2 separate regions of the Homo sapiens genome follow, and region 2 is linked to region 1. The links are contacts of gene promoters, found by promoter capture Hi-C in blood cells and fetal thymus (Javierre and others, 2016). All regions are on one chromosome and are shown on one strand. The core of a region is centred on a gene start or on the middle of the fragment in contact, and the rest is flanking DNA. Distances in the headings are between cores, read along the strand shown.

Region 1 (3,313 bases), core at 350-2,849:
TGTAATCCCAGCACTTTGGGAGGCTGAGGCCGGCGAATCTCTTAAGCCCAGGAGTTTGAAACCAGCCTGGACAATATTGTGAGATCCCATCTCAATTTTTTTTTTGAGATGGAGTCTCGCTCTGTCGCCCAGGCTGGAGTGCAATGGAACGATCTCGGCTCACTGCAACCTCCGCCTCCCGGGTTCAAGCGATTCTCCTGCCTCAGCCTCCCGAGTAGCTGGGATTACAGGCGCACGCCACTACGCTTGGCTAATTTTTGTATTTTTAGTAGAAATGGGGTTTCACCATGTTGACCAGGCTGGTTTCAAACTCCTGACCTCAAGTGATCCGCCCACCTCAGCCTCCCAAAATGCTGGGATTACCGGCATGAGCCACTGTGCTCGGCTGAAAAAAACCATATTTTTAATTTAAAATAATAAATGGGTCTGACCAGAAATGCCTGCCTCAAATTGCAGGACACATGACAAAGCCCATTCTTACTTAAGACATTTTCAGTGTGCGATGGGTCTACCGGGATGTAACCCCATCGTGAGTCGAGGCCCATCTGCACCCTGCTATAGCTACTGGTAGATCTTACCTGTTTCCCAAAAAGGACCCAACTACTTTAGGTTCAAGGCACTTTTTTGGAATATTTAACAGGGAAAGAGCCTGGAACTAAAAACAGGTCTAACGCAAGATGCCGCCACACGATGGCACTGCTTCCGTAGACCTGGAAGAAACGCGGGCGCGGGAGCTGGCGGCGGACGCCCGGGTCTGCGGGGTCGGGGAGTAGCGTCCGGCCGGAGAGCCCGCACCTCGAGGAGCCGGCGGAGGACGCGGTGTCGTGACCGCGTCTCCCCCATCTGCTCTGCTTTTGGCGACAGCGTCCCGTCGGCCTTTCGGCCAGGACGCAGCAGCCGCGTCTCTGGGCCTCGACCCCCAGGGCCGGCCGGACCCGGGACCTCCGAGGAGAGCAGCGAGAACCGGCCCGGATTCCCCGAGGCGCCCGAGTGCGGTGCGGGCAGCCCTCCCCGCCTGCCAGGCCGCCGCTGTCCCCACGTCTGGTCCCCCACGCCTCTTCCCGCATCTGGTCCCACGGTGGAGGCGCGGGGCGAGGGCCTCACGCGCGTGCCCACGGTCGGGGGGCGTCCTTGGACGCGCGGGTCCTCTCCCACGGGTCTCCACCCCCCGCCCTCCGGCGACAGGAGCCGGCCTGGGACGCGCGCGCTGCGGCCAAGTCCTGGTTTTGATTTCACTCCCAACCCCGAGGAGCGAGGAGGTTCCAAGCCCACAAACAGGAAGAAGAGAAGGCCCTGGAGTGCTGGCAGAGGGAGTGTCATTCCCAGCAGCGCAGCGCAGGCCGGCCCGGGCCGGGGAGGGAGCAGCAGCGCGGGCACCCTCCTGCAACGTGGGCTGGGGGTCCCCAGGGCCGGGGAGGGGGCCCCGGGGAGGAACTGAGAGGGGGCGCGCCCCGGGAAGGCTCGGGGCGGCTCCGGGGGGCTCCCAGGGCGCCCCCGCCCCTTCCCCCGCGGCCCCGGGGCGCCCCCGCGGTGCCGGAGTCGGGGCGGGGCGTGCACGTCAGCCGGGGCTAGAAAAGGCGGCGGGGCTGGGCCCAGCGAGGTGACAGCCTCGCTTGGACGCAGAGCCCGGCCCGACGCCGCCATGAGCGCCGCGCTCTTCAGCCTGGACGGCCCGGCGCGCGGCGCGCCCTGGCCTGCGGAGCCTGCGCCCTTCTACGAACCGGGCCGGGCGGGCAAGCCGGGCCGCGGGGCCGAGCCAGGGGCCCTAGGCGAGCCAGGCGCCGCCGCCCCCGCCATGTACGACGACGAGAGCGCCATCGACTTCAGCGCCTACATCGACTCCATGGCCGCCGTGCCCACCCTGGAGCTGTGCCACGACGAGCTCTTCGCCGACCTCTTCAACAGCAATCACAAGGCGGGCGGCGCGGGGCCCCTGGAGCTTCTTCCCGGCGGCCCCGCGCGCCCCTTGGGCCCGGGCCCTGCCGCTCCCCGCCTGCTCAAGCGCGAGCCCGACTGGGGCGACGGCGACGCGCCCGGCTCGCTGTTGCCCGCGCAGGTGGCCGCGTGCGCACAGACCGTGGTGAGCTTGGCGGCCGCAGGGCAGCCCACCCCGCCCACGTCGCCGGAGCCGCCGCGCAGCAGCCCCAGGCAGACCCCCGCGCCCGGCCCCGCCCGGGAGAAGAGCGCCGGCAAGAGGGGCCCGGACCGCGGCAGCCCCGAGTACCGGCAGCGGCGCGAGCGCAACAACATCGCCGTGCGCAAGAGCCGCGACAAGGCCAAGCGGCGCAACCAGGAGATGCAGCAGAAGTTGGTGGAGCTGTCGGCTGAGAACGAGAAGCTGCACCAGCGCGTGGAGCAGCTCACGCGGGACCTGGCCGGCCTCCGGCAGTTCTTCAAGCAGCTGCCCAGCCCGCCCTTCCTGCCGGCCGCCGGGACAGCAGACTGCCGGTAACGCGCGGCCGGGGCGGGAGAGACTCAGCAACGACCCATACCTCAGACCCGACGGCCCGGAGCGGAGCGCGCCCTGCCCTGGCGCAGCCAGAGCCGCCGGGTGCCCGCTGCAGTTTCTTGGGACATAGGAGCGCAAAGAAGCTACAGCCTGGACTTACCACCACTAAACTGCGAGAGAAGCTAAACGTGTTTATTTTCCCTTAAATTATTTTTGTAATGGTAGCTTTTTCTACATCTTACTCCTGTTGATGCAGCTAAGGTACATTTGTAAAAAGAAAAAAAACCAGACTTTTCAGACAAACCCTTTGTATTGTAGATAAGAGGAAAAGACTGAGCATGCTCACTTTTTTATATTAATTTTTACAGTATTTGTAAGAATAAAGCAGCATTTGAAATCGCCCCTGCTTCCTATATTCGCAGTGACTCCCGCCCGCCCGCCGGTGGCGCAGGACCCGGCTCGGGAAGGGTGCGTTCCGGACCCGCAGCCAGCGAGCACCAGGGAGCCCGGGCGCCAGGTGTGTGTGTGGGGGGGGCGGGGGGATGGGGCGCAGGCCCGAGCTACTCAGGAGAGAGGGTCTGTCGCTTTTAAAACGCATTAAAGGCTCTCTCCTGGCCTTATTTAACTTGCCTAAGCTAGGTGGAGCACGGCTGAGCTCAGGTAAGCTAGCAGCTTTCCAGCAGAAGGTGTTCTCCCGAAGAACGCAGACCTGGGGAAGGGTTGACTTTTTGGGGGCCCCTGCTGAGAACAGTTCAAGAGCTCCCTAACTGTAGAGGCTGCTGGAGGGGCGAGGGGCAGAACCCCGGGCTGAATCATCTCCCGCTTTCCCGGGACTTTGCTTTCACTTTCCTCAGTCTTGTGGAC
Region 2 (2,840 bases), core at 6-2,505, 130 kb after region 1:
AGCCAGGATGGTCTCGATCTCCTGACCTCGTGATCTGCCCGTCTCGGCCTCCCAAAGTGCTGGGATTACAGGCGTGAGACACCGGGCCCAGCCTCTATTTTCTTTATAAACATCTTCACCCAAGAGCTGCCCTTGTTCCTCCCTTGCCACTTTCCTAAGTGTCCCTCCTTGTGCTGTTCCCTGTTTGTTTACACTGACTGAATATTCTTCAGGGACCTTGGTTCCCAGTGTCTCATCCTCTATCTGATTGGAACAGACTAGACATCACCTCTGTCCCAAAGCAGAGTATTCCTGGCAATTTCTAGCTCACTGGCATTCTCATCAATCTCCTTAGACAAACAACAACATTTGTAGCACAACTCCATGGACTGGTTCATCCTGAGAAGAGAAGGGGAGCCACAACCTCACCCCACCTTCTCAGCTGCTCAATCAGCCATTGCTGTTTCCCATCAACCCATACTTGCTGGGTGTCTACTGCATTCATGGTCCAGTACCAAAACCAGATGAGTCACAGCCCCTGACCTCTGAGGACTTATTTATGGTTAAATGAGACAACTGAAGTAAAGAAAACACGTAGAGCTTATTTTGAAGGCAATGACAAGTATCAGTGCAATGTTTAATACCTGGTTGTTAGTCTCACTATATAATCAAGCATCTGTCACTGTCTTTTGTATCTGTGCAAATAAATGTGAAAATTCAGACCATTTATAATACCAGTGCCAGAGCAGCAAGTGAGGAAGAAACAAGGGCATCTGTTCATGTATAATCCTCTCTCGTGGGAAGGGGGTGTCCAACCCAAGAATTGCTCTACAGGATTTTTGCTCCAGTTCCCTGTGGAGAAAGAGCTGAGCTGGCTCAAGCCATTGAGAACTGTGGAGCCAAGAAATCAGCACAACAAGGGTGAGCCTACCAAACCCGCCAGCTGGCTGCACCAAGTGCTCTGGGTCTAGCAGCAGCTGGGAGAGAGGGCAGAGTAGGTCATTTGACAGAGGCAAAAGGGGAGGAGAGGGGCAGCAAGGTGCGGTGGCTCAGCTAGAGGAGGAAGTCAAGTTGGGTCAGGCTTGATCTCATCCTTTCTCTGCTTCATGCCCACAGAGGCACGTGGCACTGTGTGCTTGCATCTGGCCACCCCTGAAGACTCTGCCAGGCTGTGTGCTCTGTCTCCCATGGCTCTTCTCTGTGCCGTCATCTCAGCAAAGCACATTCCAGAGCTGCAGTCTGACTCACAGGAAAGTGTGATCTAGTGTGATCACAGTGCTGCTCCAGATTGCAGCTGCAGGAATGGGGTGGGGGTACGGTGGGAAGAGTAGGGAGACTGTTCCAGGTCTCCAGTCTCTTTTAGGAACAAAAGTTTCCAGAGAAAGGAGGTCAGAAACAGGGAGGAAAAAATTCCATGGCTTTTATATAGGGCCACCTTGAAATCCTTCTTGATCTTCATGGATGACAGGTGCTGGAAAATCACCATGGCCAGGTTAAGACGCAAACTTAGAATGGTGGTTACACATAGCATAATCTGGAAAATTACTCTTGCTGTTTTCATTCTATTACCAAAACTTCATAATTGTCTGTACTCACATCCCCAGGCTGTTGCCATTCCATTTCACTTTTCCCTTTAAGTCTATCACTGGTTTAATATATAGGAAAAAAGAGCATGAAAACTTTCACAGCAGTTTTCATATTATCCGTAAGTTCACCAAGAAAGTTATTCAATGTGTATAGCTATAAATGATAACATGGGTCAAATGATACAGGTTGGTATTATCAAGTGTTTAAAGAGCGTGTACATATTACTTTCATATTATTTACACCTCTAACTCTACTCTGAAACTATTACTTTTTCAATCAGATAGCTGTAACCAAACACTAGATCAATAAAATGATAAAAGCTAAAAGAGACAAAGGGTGGAGAAATGGATCCATTTTCTGCCACCTACAAAGGAAGAAATGCTATGCACACAAAGACGTAACAGTGCAAACTGTAACAAATGCCAAAAATAAGATATACATTTAAATAAAATATAAAGACTACTACTAGTACTAAACATAATCTCTAACTACAAGGAGGGTCCAACCCACAATGTTGGACCATACACACAAATTAACTCAAAATGGATCACAGACCAAAATATAAGGGCAAAAGCTATAAAATTCTTAGAAGAAAACACAGAAGTATGTTTGCATAACCTTGGATTCACCAATGGTTTCTTAGCTATGACCCTGAAAACACAAGCAATAATAATAACAAAAATGACAAATTGGACCTCATTAAAATGATAAATCTTTGTGTTTCAAAGGACACTATCAAAAAAGTGAAAAACTCCACAGAATGGGAAAAAATATTTGCAAATGATAAAGGACTTATACAGAGAACTCTTACAATTCAACAACAAAAAATAATCCAACTTTAAAAATAGGCAAAGGACTTGAAAGACATTTCTCTAAAGAAGATATACAAATGGCCAATAGCCTATGAAAAGATGCTCAGCCGGGTGCGGTGGCTCACGCCTGTAATCCCAACACTTTGGGAGGCCGAGGCAGGCAGATGATGAGGTCGAGAGATAGAGACCATCCAGGCCAACATGGTGAAACCCCGTCTCTACTAAAAATACAAAAAATTAGCTGGGCGTGGTAGCGCACACGCACGTGTAGTCCCAGCTACTCGGGAGGCTGAGGCAGAAGAATCGCCTGGAACCAGGAGGCCGAGGTTGCAGTGAGCTGAGATCGTGCCACTGCACTCCGCCCTGGCGACAGAGCGAGACTCCATCTCAAAAAATAAAAAATAAAAAAAAGAAAAGATGCTCAACATTGTTAGTCATCAGGAAATGCAAATCAAAGCCACA

Evidence for each region. The method cuts DNA at HindIII sites, captures the fragments that hold promoters and counts their contacts. A CHiCAGO score of 5 or more calls a contact.
Region 2: a contact is called between a fragment that was not itself captured here and the fragment with the promoter of CEBPD in region 1, in 1 of 17 cell types (neutrophils). The highest score is 7.8, in neutrophils.

Annotation. Positions count from the first base shown.
Region 1 is chr8:47,736,450-47,739,762 of GRCh38, reverse strand. CEBPD (CCAAT enhancer binding protein delta) reads left to right here and starts at 1,599. Exons shown (of 1, transcript NM_005195.4): 1 at 1,599-2,850. The coding sequence starts at 1,643. The coding sequence ends at 2,452. RefSeq lists silencers at 771-1,240, 1,331-1,410, 1,451-1,560, 2,051-2,240 and an enhancer at 1,637-2,575. The HindIII fragment of the contact is 19,422 bases long and covers 1-3,313 here.
Region 2 is chr8:47,608,670-47,611,509 of GRCh38, reverse strand. All of the region lies in intron 10 of SPIDR (scaffold protein involved in DNA repair), which reads right to left. Among named protein-coding and RNA genes, the nearest start is that of CEBPD, 130 kb to the left of the region's middle. RefSeq lists a silencer at 960-1,029. The HindIII fragment of the contact is 5,211 bases long and covers 1-2,840 here.